2 separate regions of the Homo sapiens genome follow, and region 2 is linked to region 1. The links are contacts of gene promoters, found by promoter capture Hi-C in human tissues and cell types (Jung and others, 2019). All regions are on one chromosome and are shown on one strand. The core of a region is centred on a gene start or on the middle of the fragment in contact, and the rest is flanking DNA. Distances in the headings are between cores, read along the strand shown.

What was found. The method cuts DNA at HindIII sites, captures the fragments that hold promoters and counts their contacts. A contact is called where the count stands out against the background at its distance.
Region 2: a fragment that was not itself captured here is called in contact with the fragment with the promoter of DUSP26 in region 1 in 2 of the 25 tissues and cell types used here (mesendoderm cells and thymus).

What each region holds. Positions count from the first base shown.
Region 1 is chr8:33,597,646-33,604,122 of GRCh38, forward strand. DUSP26 (dual specificity phosphatase 26) reads right to left here and starts at 2,378. Exons shown (of 4, transcript NM_024025.3): 1 at 2,020-2,378. RefSeq lists an enhancer at 44-544. The HindIII fragment of the contact is 23,069 bases long and covers 1-6,477 here.
Region 2 is chr8:33,733,825-33,741,292 of GRCh38, forward strand. The region is part of intron 1 of LOC105379364 (a long non-coding RNA gene); the gene reads left to right. Among named protein-coding and RNA genes, the nearest start is that of DUSP26, 140 kb to the left of the region's middle. The HindIII fragment of the contact is 7,961 bases long and covers 1,354-7,468 here.

The DNA of each region.
Region 1 (6,477 bases), core at 1,128-3,627:
CCTTCCCTGGGCTGGTCCTTCGGGAGAAGATTCTCGAGGGAGAGAAGGTAAGCCTGGCTCTGGCAGGAGCCTTCAGGGGTGGCTTTTTCTTCAAGCTGCAGCAGCTCCTTTTGCTCAGCTCTTTGGCTCTGCCACGAAACGAGGTGGGAGAGTCACATGTCCTTGTTTACGGGGAGAGGGAGCTGCCCAGCTGCTAGGTTTCAGCTTCATCACCCCACCCCCACTGCCAGCACGCATACACACACACACACACACACACACACACGGCACTTGGGTGGTTGTCCCCACTGCTGGGGATCTTGCCAGCTGGAATCTGAGTCTCATCTGCCTGGGGCTATCGGCAGAGAGCCTAGGGAGCTGGGATGGGGTTGGGGGTACCTTTAGACCCATCCAAAGAGAATTAGCAGGGAGACAACAGCAGCTGAGGCCATGACACATGTCAGGCCTGCCATCTCTGTGCCAGAGTTAGACTTTAACCCCTTCGTGACCTGCCACTGCCTCAGAGATAAACCTGCTATGGGAAGGGTGTGGTGGGGGTGGGATGGGGTGAGTGGAGAATAGCAATAAAGAGGAAGAGTAAGTTTGCAAAAAATAAATACTTGCTGAATGCATGAGCTTATGGAAGAAGGCACCAATCTATGTGCACAACAGGCAAACCACCCTCCTTGGATCAGCATTAGGAAATTACTGATCAGATCTCAGCTCTAATGTGAGAATTTCTGAATCTAAGCAGGGTTGGAGTGTTTTGTCTGTGTGTGTCTTGAGGGGAGGGTGACAGAGGTGGATGGTGGGGGAATTGACGCAGGGTTGGAGTGTTTTGTCTGTGTGTGTCTTGAGGGGAGGGGGGACAGGGGTGGGTGGTGGGGGCCTAGAAAGCAGGAAGGAAAGGGAAAAATGAGGGATCCTGCCAGGTCCAGGGGCTCAGAGGCTTAGAATTACCAACCGTATGGCTGTTGGAGTCAAGTGACCCTACAAAACACGAGGTCAATAACGAGGGGCTTAGCAGGTGTGTCTCAGATTACCTGTTGAGCTGCAGAGCTGGGAAGGACCAGCGTTTGAGGCTTGCCCTGGGACCTTCAGGCAGGGAGGCAACAATGGCAAGGCCCCTTCCCCCTCCCTCCCCATCCTCTCACACCTGTGGTCCTGCCTGTTTGAAAGCAGGAGGTCCTGGAGCCTGCAGAATCCCCTTCCACTCCCTTCCTGGCCTCCTGCCAGGGGGACTTCAACTCTATGACCAGCAGTGAGAGGCCATCTTTGTCCCTGCCCATGCTCTGTCCCCATCTCACACCCCTAGACAGGGCCCAGCTCTCCCTTGCTCCAGTGCCAAGAGAAACCAAGCACTTACAAGGCATTAGAAGCAGGGGTTTTAGGACCAGGATTGGTGAGGGAAGATTGGATGTTAGGGAGTTTAGGGAGAGAGAGTTTTCAATGGCTGGGTCCGGAAGGAGCACAGAAATATAGCACTACAGCCATCATCACCACCACCATCACCATCATCACTACCACCATCACCACCATCACTATCACCATCATCTTCTTCTACCTTTGCACCCAGGCCTAAAGACCCCATTACTGTATTGCAATACAACCTTTCCTCTTAGAGAGTCTGCTGTCTACGAGATGATGAATGGGATGGGGGAAGCGTGAAGGAGCCCAGGTCTAAGAAGGATCTCCGTGGGGCTGTTTTTCCCGGGGGATGCAGAAGCCCCTTTCTGTCCAGGGATACAGCCCTGGGCATTCTCCAATCCCATCCGTCGGCTCCAGGGGCCCTGGCCCGCCGCTCCCTCCCTCCGCCTGCGGTCGCCTTTGTAACAGGTCCATGGCTGTCGCCCCAGTCCTCGCCAGCCTGGCAGCCGGGCCCCGCGCGCGGAGGGAGGGCGCCCGGGAGAGAGAGGCTGGCTCGCTGGGCTCGGGTGCCCGCTTCCCGGTCCCCTCCCTCCCCCGTCGCCCCTAGCTGGGCGCCTCTCCCCAGCGTGGAGAGCCAGCTGAAAAGGCGAAGGCCCGCCGCAGCCCCTCTACCTCTTTGCAAGCGCTGCGCTGGGCCTCAGTCCGAAAGGCGGATCGCCGGCGCAGACAGCGCCACGGCCATGACGCTCCTGCTGCTGTCGCCGCCGCTGTTTCTGCCCAAGACAGGTTGACAGATTAGCAGCTATTTTTAAGCCATGACACACACGTCGAAGCAGGGTTCAAATCAGCGTGTGCGCTGGTGACATAAAGGGACTCGGTCTCACATTCGGTGGCCCGAGTCGCCAGGCAGCGTGGGCTCCCCAGCCAACCCCCCACGAGCCCGCGCGCCTTGCAGACCAGACACGGCCCCGCCGAGCCCCAGCAGCACCGCCTGGAATGCATGCGTGTGTTCTCAGAGCTGCACCAATTACAAAGCGTTTTGCCTAAAGATTACATTATAAGTCATCCCAGGCACTGTCTTAAACACACACACTCCTCCCAGACAGAATTAACTAATTACATAGACACGATTCTGTGCACTGGCTTGTACATGCCTCGGTCTCAAGAAACCGTGTCATAAAGAACAATGGTCCGAAGCCCCCATTAGCCTTCATTATATGCCATGTGCTTCATTTAGCTTAAGGCATTTTATACTCCCCACAAGTCTATGAGGGAGACATAATTACTATTGTCCTAATTTTAGGGAGGAGGCGACCTAGGCACAGAGAGGCTAGGTACTCTGCCCTGGTCACACAGCTCGTTACTGGCAGAGCTGAGCTTGTTCAAACAATGCAGCCTGGCTTTGCAGTTTATGTCCTTAACCACTCTCTAAACCAGTGCCTCCCACAAAATGGAGAAGGCACCATGGATTTCCTTCATTCAGGAAGCCATTTCCACCAGCTCAGCTCATAGTGAACTTCACTTTCCCCAGACTCTCAAAACATTCATCTTCATATTTCTTTCTTTCTTTTTTGAGATGCAGTCCCACTCTGTCGCCCAGGCTGGAGTGCAGTGGCGCAATCTTGGCTCATTGTAACCCGCCTCCCAGGTTCAAGCCATTCTCCTGCCTCAGCTTCCCAAGTAGCTGGGATTACAGGCGCCCGCCTCCATGCCTGGCTAATTTTTTGTATATATTTTTTCTTTGTTTGTTTGTTTTTTAGTACAGATGGGGTTTCACCATGTTGACCAGGCTGGTCTTGAACTCCTGACCTCAGGTGATCCACCCACCTTCTCTCAAAGTGCTCAGATTACAGGCATGAGCCACTGTGTCCGGCCATCTTCATATTAATTTCTCATGTGCTGCCTTCTAGTGACATATTCACTTGATCGGCATTTTTATTGTAAGCACCAAGATTGTAAGCACTTTGAAGGCAGGGACTGTGCTACCTTCCCCAGTGCCTACCTTATTGTGTGAGAGGGAAGTGGGGGAGATGATAAATGTTAGCAGATGATGCTGTTGAGAACTAGGCTGGCTTGAACTCTCGCTGTCTACTAGAAGAAAGGCAGAAAGTAGATTGGCTCAGATTGAAGCTGATGGTGTCAGCTATAGCTGAAACCAGGACTGACTCCATTCCCAGCAGTGGTGGCAGATCAGGTTTTGATCTCTGGGTTAGAGAAAGTACTGGCCAATGTGACCAATCCCCAGGTTCCATGACAGGCTGCCATCCAAGTTTAATGTACCGCCTAGCCTTTTTTTTTCTCTAGAGAAACAAAATTCTTTTCACTTTTCCTTGTCCCTTGTGTTACAGCAGTTTAAATATGAAATGAAATCCTTGTCATTTAAAACAAAGAGGCAGGGCATGGTGGCTCACACCTGTAATCCCAGCACTTTGGGAGGCCAGGGTGGGCAGATCACCTGAGGTCAGGAGTTCGAGACCAGCCTGGCCAACATGGTGAAACCCCATCTCTACTAAAAAACAAAAATTAGCCGGGTGTGGTGGCAGGCGCCTGTAGTCCCAGCTACTTGGGAAGCTGAGGTGGGAGAATCACTTGAACATGGAAGGTGGAGGTTGTAATGAGCTGAGATCATGCCACTGCACTCCAGCCTGAGCGACAGAGCGAGGCTCCCTCTCAACAAACAAACAAAAGCGAAAATAAACAATCAAACAAACAACAAAAAACCCCAAGGAATTGACCTGAGAAATTTGAGATTTTAATTTGCGCATCCAAATTAAAATTTGGATTTAATTTGCAAACCTAGTTAAAACATTATCATAAAAGGAATTGTGAAAGAGCACTTACAAGATCAATATCTTTTTTTTGTTTGTTTGTTTGAGACGGAGTTTTGCTCTTTTTGCCCAGGCTGGAGTGCAATGGTGCAATGTCAGCTCACCGCAACCTCCACCTCCCGGGTTCAAGCGATTCTCCTGCCTCAGCCTCTCAAGTAGCTGGGATTACAGGCATGTGCCACCATGCCTGGCTAATTTGGTATTTTTTAGTAGAGACAGGGTTTCTCCATGTTGGCCAAGCTGGTCTCGAACTCCCGACCTCAGGTGAAGATCAATGTCATTTTAAGTGAAAAGTCTTCAAGATTGGTAGGTTGAGAGGATGTTGTAGGTAAAGCTGATCTCAATCTTTGACAAGACCTCTGTTTCAACCCTGCATTACACTTTTTTCAAAAAGCGGGGAAAATACAGTTTAAAGTACACCACAGACAATGTGTACAGCTGTTTATGGGTAATTATAGAAATTACCTGGGGACTGACATATCCGTGAGGATCATTTTCATGAGTCGATCTATAGCCCACTTGATTTCTTTTGTTTTGTTTTGTTTTGTTTTTTTGTTTGTTTTTTTGATTTTTTTTTGAGGCAGGGTCTCAGGCTGGAGTGCAGTGGTAAAATCATAGCTCACTGCAGCCTCAACCTCCTGGGCTTAAACCATCCTCTTTTAAACGATCCTCTTGCCTCAGCCTCCTAAGTAGCTGGGACTATACAGGTGCATGCCACAATGCCTGGCGATTTTTTTTTCTTTTTTTTTTTTTTAAGACAGAGTCTTGCTCTGTCTCCTAGGCTGGAGTGCAGTGGTGTGATCTTGGCTCACTGCAACTGCTGCCTCCCCAGTTCAAGCAATTCTTGTGTGTCGCCTCCTGAGTAGCTGGGATGACAAGTGCATGCCACCACACCTGGCTAATTTTTGTATTTTTTGTAGAGATTAGGTTTCACCATGTTGGCCAGGCTGGTCTCAAGCTCCTGACCTCAGGTGGTCTGCCCGCCTCAGCCTCCCAAAGTGCTGGGATTATAGGCCAGAGCCACCATGCCCTGCCAATCAGCTCATTTTATCTCACCCATATATTAAATTGGTGTCATCATTCTGATTGAATACCTGAGAGAGACTGACATTTGGTCAGATTAGTTAACTCATCCACATCTAGTGTGTGGCAGGACACAGGTTCAAACCCAGGGCTATCTTATTTGAAACTTCAGTGTTTCAAGACTAGGCTGGAGAATCGTTTCCTCTGTAAAGCCTTTTTGGATTCACTCTTTTTTTTTTTCGAGACCAAGTCTTGCTCTGTTGCCCAGGCTGGAGTGCAGTGGCATGATCTCAGCTCACTGCAACCTCTGCCTCCTGGGTTCAAGCAATTCTCCTGCCTCATCCTCCTGAGTAGCTGGAATTATAGGCATGCACCACCATGCCCAGCTAACTTTTTGTATTTTTAGTAGAGACGGGGTTTCACCAAGTTGGCCAGGTTGGTCTCGGGCTCCTGACCTCATGATCTACTTGCCTCAGCCTCCCAAAGTGCTGGGATTATAGGTGTGAGCCACCGTGCCCGGCCTGGATCCACTCTTTTTTTTGTTTGTTTTTTGAGATGAAGTCTTGCTCTGTCACCCAGGCTGGAGTGCAGTGGCTCAGTCTCAGCTCACTGCAACCTCCACCTCTCGGATTCAAGCAGTTCTCCTGCATCAGCCTCCCAAGTAGCTGGGATATAAGAGTGTGCCACCGTGCCTGGCTAAATTTTGTATTTTTAGTAGAGACAGGATTTCGCCATCTTGGCCAAGCTGGTCTCAAACTCCTGACCTCAAGTGATCTGCCTGCCTCGGCCTCCCAAAGTGCTGGGATTACAGGCATGAGCCACTGTGCCCAGCCTGGATCCACTCTTATTTGTCCGTTTCCTTCTTTGTGCTCATATACACTTCCATCAAAGGACCTATGAGCTATATTTGTTTCACTTATTTATACACTTATTTAAATTCATATTGCCCGTACTAGAAGCACGAATGGATACACTATGCTGGGATGAAGAGATTAGAGATGGAAAAATAAGGCTATGGAAAGATAAAGATAGGGCCAGGAACTGCAGCTCGTATGCCTGTAATCCCAACACTTTGGCGGACCGAGGTGGGAGGATTTCATGAAGCCAGGAGTTGGAGACCAGCCTAGGGAACATAGTGAGACCATGACTCTACAAAAAATAAAGAATTAGCTGGCCATGGTGGCAAGCACCTGTAGTCCTAGCTACTCAGGAGGGTGAGGTGGGAAGATCGCTGGAGCCCAGGAGTTTGAGGCTGCCGTGAGTCATGATTGTGCCACTG
Region 2 (7,468 bases), core at 4,084-6,583, 140 kb after region 1:
CATCAGGCTTCGTTAAACTCTGCTGGTGGGATTCACCACATCACTCTCATTGCCTTCACCATCCACAACTCCTACTGCCCCTTTAAACCTATTTACTGCATCTAGTTTTCCTGCTGCTGAATAAAATATCAGGCATTCTTCTGAATTTTCTGGTGGTTCTTATGTAGTATGAAATCTAACAATTACCTTTTAAATGATAAACACAGCCTAGATTCAGAAAATAGAAGGTCGACTGCCTTATAATAACCAGTATGCCAATTCTAACTCACAGTGGAGACTTCTCCCACCTTCTCCAGCCGTAGCTAGGTGCCGGGAGGCCTAGAGCAAAGAAGGAGGGTGTGGTTGGCTCCTCCTGTATTTCCTGCTCTGACTAGCTGTTATTTCTGACCCTTCCAGGTTGGAGATCAGAGGCCAGATGGAGGGATGAGAGGAACAGAATGTTACTTAACAGACACTGTTGGAAGCTGGCTTCAAGCTCTCTAAGCTTGGCAGATGTTAAAAAGAGAATCTTTCTCTCTCATGATATTCCAGTTGGTTCTTTGGAGATGCCTTACCTCCCCATTGCTAGAGATCTTGCACTAGCTGCTCCCCTGTTGCAGCTAGTGGCATCTGTATTGCAGCTGGTCACTTTTTGCTGAGCCCTCAGGAATTTGGCAATACCTTCAGTGCAGTAGTTCTCAATGATTTTGTCTCTTACAACTGGGAAGTGGAATTGGCATCTAGTAGGTAGAAACCAGGGATACTACTAAATATCTTACAATGCACAGGGCAGCCCCCCACAAAAAAGAATGATCTACCTCAAAATGTCAGTGGTGCCAAGGTTGAGCAAACCAGCTCTAGTGCATGGAAGACTCTCATGCATCTTTTGCCTGAGCAAATTCTTGGCTTGCAGGTGGGTATCATTGTAGCCTATCTCCTTTGGCTTACCCGTCAATAGCTAGCCAGTACGTCTCTTGTCCATATCCCTTAAACTGCACTTCTCTGGGTGGTCCTGCTGAAGTCCCCCTTCCTTGGCTTGGGGGTTAGGCACACTGTACAACTCTCTTCAGAGAGACACATATGCCCATAAATATCTTCTCTTCCTCTAGTTTTATTCCCATGAGGTGGGTGACAGGCTTAGGTTTCTAACTAATTATTGTAAAATTTACCTGCTGCTTATTGCTACAATAATTCTATGTAACACAAAAGTGCAAAACCTCTATGGTATACAACAAGATGTGTATTTATTGCTTGTGTATTTGACTAAGATGATTGACCAAGGTTCTGCTGATCTGAGCTGGCTCATGTGTCTGGGGGCCAACCAGCTGTTTCCTGATCTACTAGGTAGGTGCAAAAGTAATTGCAGTTTTTGTCGTTAATGGCAAAAACTGCAAATACTTTCACACCTACCTAATAGAATGGTCTTGGCTGGGGTGATTGCTCTACGTGTTTTCCATCCTCCAGAAGGCTTGCTTGGTTGTGTTCTCATGGCAATGACAAACGAGCAAAGGTATAATATTAGCAAGGATCAAGAATATGACAGAGGTTAGGCATGGAGGCTCATGTAGGTATTCCTAGCACTTTGGGAGGCTGAGGCTGAAGGAATGCATGAGACCAGGAGTTTAAGACTGGCCTGGGCAACATATTGAGACCCCATCTCTAAAAAAAAACATTTTAAAAAAGAGTATGACAGAGAGGATCTAGTGATAACAGGAAGGTTATCATGTTAACGTATGATAAACACATGTTTATCTTATACATTGTAGTACACATAGTTGGCATACAACACATGTATTGTCTTTATTACAAACAACAAAGAAAATAAATGAATGAATGAGTGGGTGAATAAATGGGATGGGGAACAGCTTGAAAGACAGCATCTAGGGAGGGAAAAACCTACTGGGGCAGGTGGTAAGTGGCTCTAGCCTGACCTGCTTTCATTCACAGCCCCTAAGAAAACATGTTGTAAGTCCACACCCAATCTCACACCTTAAAAGCATAAGCCTTCATGGAGATCAAAGGTAGGATTTCTTCTAGAAAAGACAAGAAACTCTTGAGGTACAGTACAGGAAGTGTTAGGAGCCTTGTTCTTCTTGAATTCATATAGGCACCAAAGCTGAAAAATTTAGCAAGACATGCTGGACTTTTTCTCTCTTCTATCTTTCCTTTCTTCCTTTCTTTATTGTATAATGACCCTTATTAGAACTTACTCTGTGTAAGGCACTGACATAAATGTCTTACAAGCTTTATTTTCTCACAACAACTCAGAGAGGCATTATAATTATTATTTTACTATTGAGGAAACTGAGGCTTAGAGAGAGGTTAAATGACTTGTCTAGTATCATGGAGCTGGTAACTAGCAAAATAAAGTTGAATTGAGGCCTGTCTGGCTTTTTTTTTTTTTGAGACAGAGTCTCACTCCGTAGCCCAGGCTAGAGTATGATGACGCGATCTCGGCTCACTTCAACCTCTGCCTCCCAGGCTCAAGCGATTCTTGTGCCTCAGCCTCCTGAATAGCTGGGATTACAGTTGTGCACCACCACGCCCAGCTAGTTTTTGTATTTTTAGTAGAGACAGGGTTTCTCCATATTGGCCAGGCTAGTCTCGAACTCCTGACCTCAGGTGATCCACCTGCCTTGGCCTCCTAGGCTGTCTGGCTTTTAATTACCACACTGTTCTACCTCAGACCTCAAGTTTTGGTTTGCTTTTTTAGCAAGAAAAATCTCAAACCAGTTTGTTCTTATCTCCTTCCTTGTTTTTTTTTGTAGCAGAAATTGGTTGATTCATTTAAAGCACTGAGAGAGTTTTACCACTGAAAACATCAGCCCTTCACCCCTTACCTGTAACACCCAGAGATGTGTTTTCTTTGCCCCCTTTGGGCCACTTAATTACATTCTCTCTTCTTTAGGAGGAAAGCTGACATGTAATTATTTTCATGATTAACACTCTTGTGCAGCTAATTGTAATTATGCCTTATAATCACAGTTATGATCGTCAATTGCTCATTCCTGCCTCATTTGAATGTTTTTCTTTATTCCTGCTTCAAAAAGTTGATGGAACTTCTTGTATGCACTCTGTCTCTCTTCTAAGTCATGTGTGGTCATTATTTTGGTCTTCTCTGTTTGTTTTCACCCTTGTTCTTTTCCCACATTCCATTACGGCATCTCATTGGCTACTCTCCACTTGATGTTCCTTCTCATTTCTGGCTTGGCTTGCTTTAGTCTCCTATTCATCCAGTTGTGGAGGGTGGAGGGGAATTCCTGTCCCCAGGAGGATGGCCCAGCACATGACACCCAGGACTGGGCAATGGAATGACAGCAATTTACCAGCCACATATAATCATAGCCTTGGGGAAGGGACACTGTGCCAGGCAGGGCCCCAGTGCTTGCCCTCAAGAGCAGAGTGAACAAATGAGGGCGGAGGGAGGAGGGCTTTGTAGTATCAAGAGGGAGGGGTGCCTGCTGGTTCCTACCAGAGGAAGTGATTGGCTTGTTTAAAGAATTTGGTGGGCTTGCAGAGAACAGAAACTTGCTAGTCTGGGATAGGCGTGAACTGTGACTGGTTCCTATAATAAGGAGCATTGTTGGACCAGGGGGTCTCATTCATAGGAGCATAATTGGGAGGGGAACTTGTAGTTAGGCCATTCAAGAATTTTACCATACAAGAATTTTATGTGTGCTTGTAATCTCAGCTACTTGGGACACTGAAGTGGGAGGATTGCTTAAGTCCAGGAGTTCAAGACCAATCTGGGCAACATAATGAGACCTCATCTCAGAAACAGAATTTCATCAGATGTTAAGGCAACACATAATATAAGGCCTTATTTTAAGCCTTATGCTACAGTGCTCTCACCTTGAAGGTGGAACAATAATGGTATAAAATGAAGAGGCTTTCAGCACAGACCCTGGAGATGGCCATATAAGTTTGAGCTCTGGCTCCATTTCTTACTAGCTCTTTGATCATGGGAGGCTTACCTGACATTCCTGTGCCTTGATTTTCCCGTATGTAAAAGGTAAGAGTTCAGCAGCTACCTCATAGGTTGTCGTAAATATTAATCTTGTTATATAAAACACTTAGCTCAGTGCTTGGCCACTGTTTTGCTCAAAGCATTTATCTAGTCTTCTTAACAAGTCATCTCTGGCTTTGATCTTTGAATTCTTGAAGGTCTAGAGGACAACTATACTTTCTCTATTTATTTTCTTTCTGAAATGCTTAAAGAAAATGATCTGGCCTAATCTGGTTCTGGATGGCAGAACTCAAATTCTGGTGCCAGGCTACACTGTCCTTCCTAAATGAGAACCAAGTGAGGTCTAGGGGCCTAAGGCATCTCTTCTCACCAGCCTCCCGTCAGAGCCTGAGGACCACCTGACTATTTAAATCGGCAACACTTCAAACCATTCACTCTTCCTCAAACATACTTTGTCCTGGGCTGCAGCCTGAACCACTCCAGGGCCCTTATTCTATATTGTGCTCCAGGAGTTTCCAGCACATGGAATTGAACAACCTGGAGGCCCTGACATTGTCCCTTTCTATAGGCGTAACTCTCTGTTTCAGCAATGCCTCTTTATCTTCTCTGGCTATCAAAAGCTCTAAATCCATTAATCCATTCTATTCTTCAAGTCCCAGATGGTATCTCTCCATGAACCGTTCCCTTATATCCTCAGTAAGACAAGATGTTGTCCTTTTCTAAATGCCTCTATTTGTGGTTTGTTCCAATTTTGGACACTTATCTATCCTCACTGTGTCTTATCTTGCTGATTATATATACATTTAAAGTCTTGGTCTCACTCTGTCACCCAGGCTGGAGTGCAGTGATGTGATTACAGCTCACTGCAGCCTTGGACTCCTGGGCTCTAGTGATCCTCCTGCCCCAACCTCCTGAATAGTTGGGATCCCAGGCAGGTGCCACAGAGTGCCTACATTTTTATAAAGCCTAACCTCATCTATCTACCTAATATGTGAGTCTGGCACAGAGTGGGCATTTGATGCATTCTTGCTGATTAACCTTCCAAACACTGTGTGTGATGATCTCAGTCGGTCCCTGCTCTCGAGGCCTGGTGGGATAATGTAAACGGCGGGAGGAGCAGGGCCCAATGTTACTGACAGGCAAAGTCTCCTTTGCCTCATTTTGGCTTCAGGAATTAGGCTCTTCAAGAATTCCATCAGATAGCAATGAGTGCCCTCATTTTGGCCCAGCTGCTGATGCTCTGCTTGGCTCTTGCTATCTGATAGAAGGAAATTGATCCTGTAATTGTAATTTCTAGCCTTAAATCAGAGAGTCATACAGAAAAGGGCTCTGATCCCGGAGACTTTAGTGACTTTCTTTTCTGTGAAATTGTCCTCTGGGCAAGCTGACAGGAGGAAAAGAAACTAATATTCATTGAACACCTTTGAGTTGAATGCATTGTGTGACAGGCGTTATCACCCTAAGATTGCATCTCTGAGTCACATATGCCACGCACACATGTTGCAGGCTGGATTCTCCAGGAAGCAGGCCTGAAATGGAGACTGGAAGGTGGGAGGTTTATTAGGGAGTGTCTGAGGGTTTAATACCCGTGGGGAAAGGGAAGGAAGCAGGCATTGATAGAGGAAGAAGTTGGCTGCAGTGTCGTTACTACAAAGATTGCAGCCATCACTGGAGTTGGGATTGCTTTTCCTCTCAGAGTGGGAGAGGGGCCCAAGCTTCAGGTAGTCATTGGAGGTGTGCTGTCTCTGGGAAGGGATGTGACCTTGGACAAAGTCAGGTGGCTCTTTTTCTTCAAGGACAATTGCCAGAGAGTGATGTCAGCTGAGGGTTGTCTGTAGGGAGCACCCACAGAATCAGAGGAAATGAGTCATTCATTTCTGAACAGGGAGTTGTATGATGGGGCCTAGTATTCACTATAACACATTTCAGATTTTTGTTAAACCCATGCCCTTTGCCTGTGAAAATTGCTTCTCGTTCATAGTGGCAGGCCCCAGAGGCCATGTTTCGCTATGATACTATTCTCCAGCTGAGACCCTGGACCCATGTTGGGCCAGTCAGCTGTTCTTTCCCAGGACAGTACAAATGGATTCCAATTAATTGGAATGGTGACAGCTATTTTATGCCACATACATGGAGATGTTAAGAAATCTAGCTCATAAAAAGACACATACATGATAACCAATGAGGTCTGCATTAGGCTGTTCTGGCATTGCCATAAAGAAATACCTGAGGCTGGGTAATTTATAAAGGAAAGAGATTTAATTGGCTCACAGTTCTGCTGGCTGTACAGGAAGCATGGCACCGCATCTGCTTGGCTTCTGGGGAGGCCCCAGGGAGCTTCTACTCATGGCTAAGCCAAAGCGGGAGCAGGCATGTCACCTGGCAAGAAGGAGCAAGAGAGAGAAGGGGGTGTTCCCACACACTTTTAAACAATCAGATCTTGTGTGAACTCAGAGTGAGAAATCACTCATCACCAAGGAGATGGTGCTAAGCCACTGATGAGGGATCTGTACCCATGATCCAAACACCTCCCCCAGACGCCACTTCCAACATTAGAGACCACATTTCAACATGAGATTTGGAGGGGACAAACTTCCACACCGTATCAAGGTCTCAAGAATATGAAGTATCAGGTTGCCTGGGTTCCTAAGGATATTGTATTTCCAGGTCCTCTTTGCTCATCAGGCTGGACTGCACTTCCTGTCCTTGGGTTCTGTAAAATAGCCCGATGTCCTCTTACGTCTCACCTCATTTTCTTCGATTTATTTATTTATTTTGAGACATAGTCTCACTCTATCGCCCCGGCTGGAGTTCAGTGGAGCAATCTTGGCTTACTGCAGCCTCTGCCTTCCAGGTTCCAGTGATTCTCCTGCCTCAGCCTCCCAAGTAGCTGGGATTACAAATTTGTGCCACCACTCCCGGCTAATATTTGTATTTTTAGTAGAGAGAGGGTTTCACCATGTTGGCCAGACTGGTCTCGAACTCCTGACCTCCAGTGATGCCTCAGCCTCCCAAAGTGCTGGGATTACAGACGTGAGCCACTGTGCCCGGCCTATTTTCCTCAATTTAAAGAGGACTTCTGTTACTTTCAAAGAAAGGAGTACTAATTAAGGCCTCAGCTGAAGACACTGAAGTTCAGAGAAGTCAAAGAACTTATAAAAAATCACACAGCAAATTAATGACAAAACATTTTTTTTTTCTGACAGAGAAGTTTTTTTCTATTATACAATGTTACAAATTAAAAATTCCAAAAATAAAGTCCAAGTTTTGGAATTATTAATTTACATCTATCTTTTATTTTAAGATTTTAAAGTACATTCACATTCATCATTTCATTATATTTGATTAATACAACAAACTCACAGGTGTAGGCAGAGTAGATGTAATCCCCATTTTTCAGAAAAGGAAACTAAAGTCTAAGTCAGTGTATTAGTTCGTTTCATATTGCTGTGAAGAACTACCTGAGACTGGGTCATTTATAAAGAAAAAAGGTTTAATGGACTCACAGTTCTACAGGCTGCA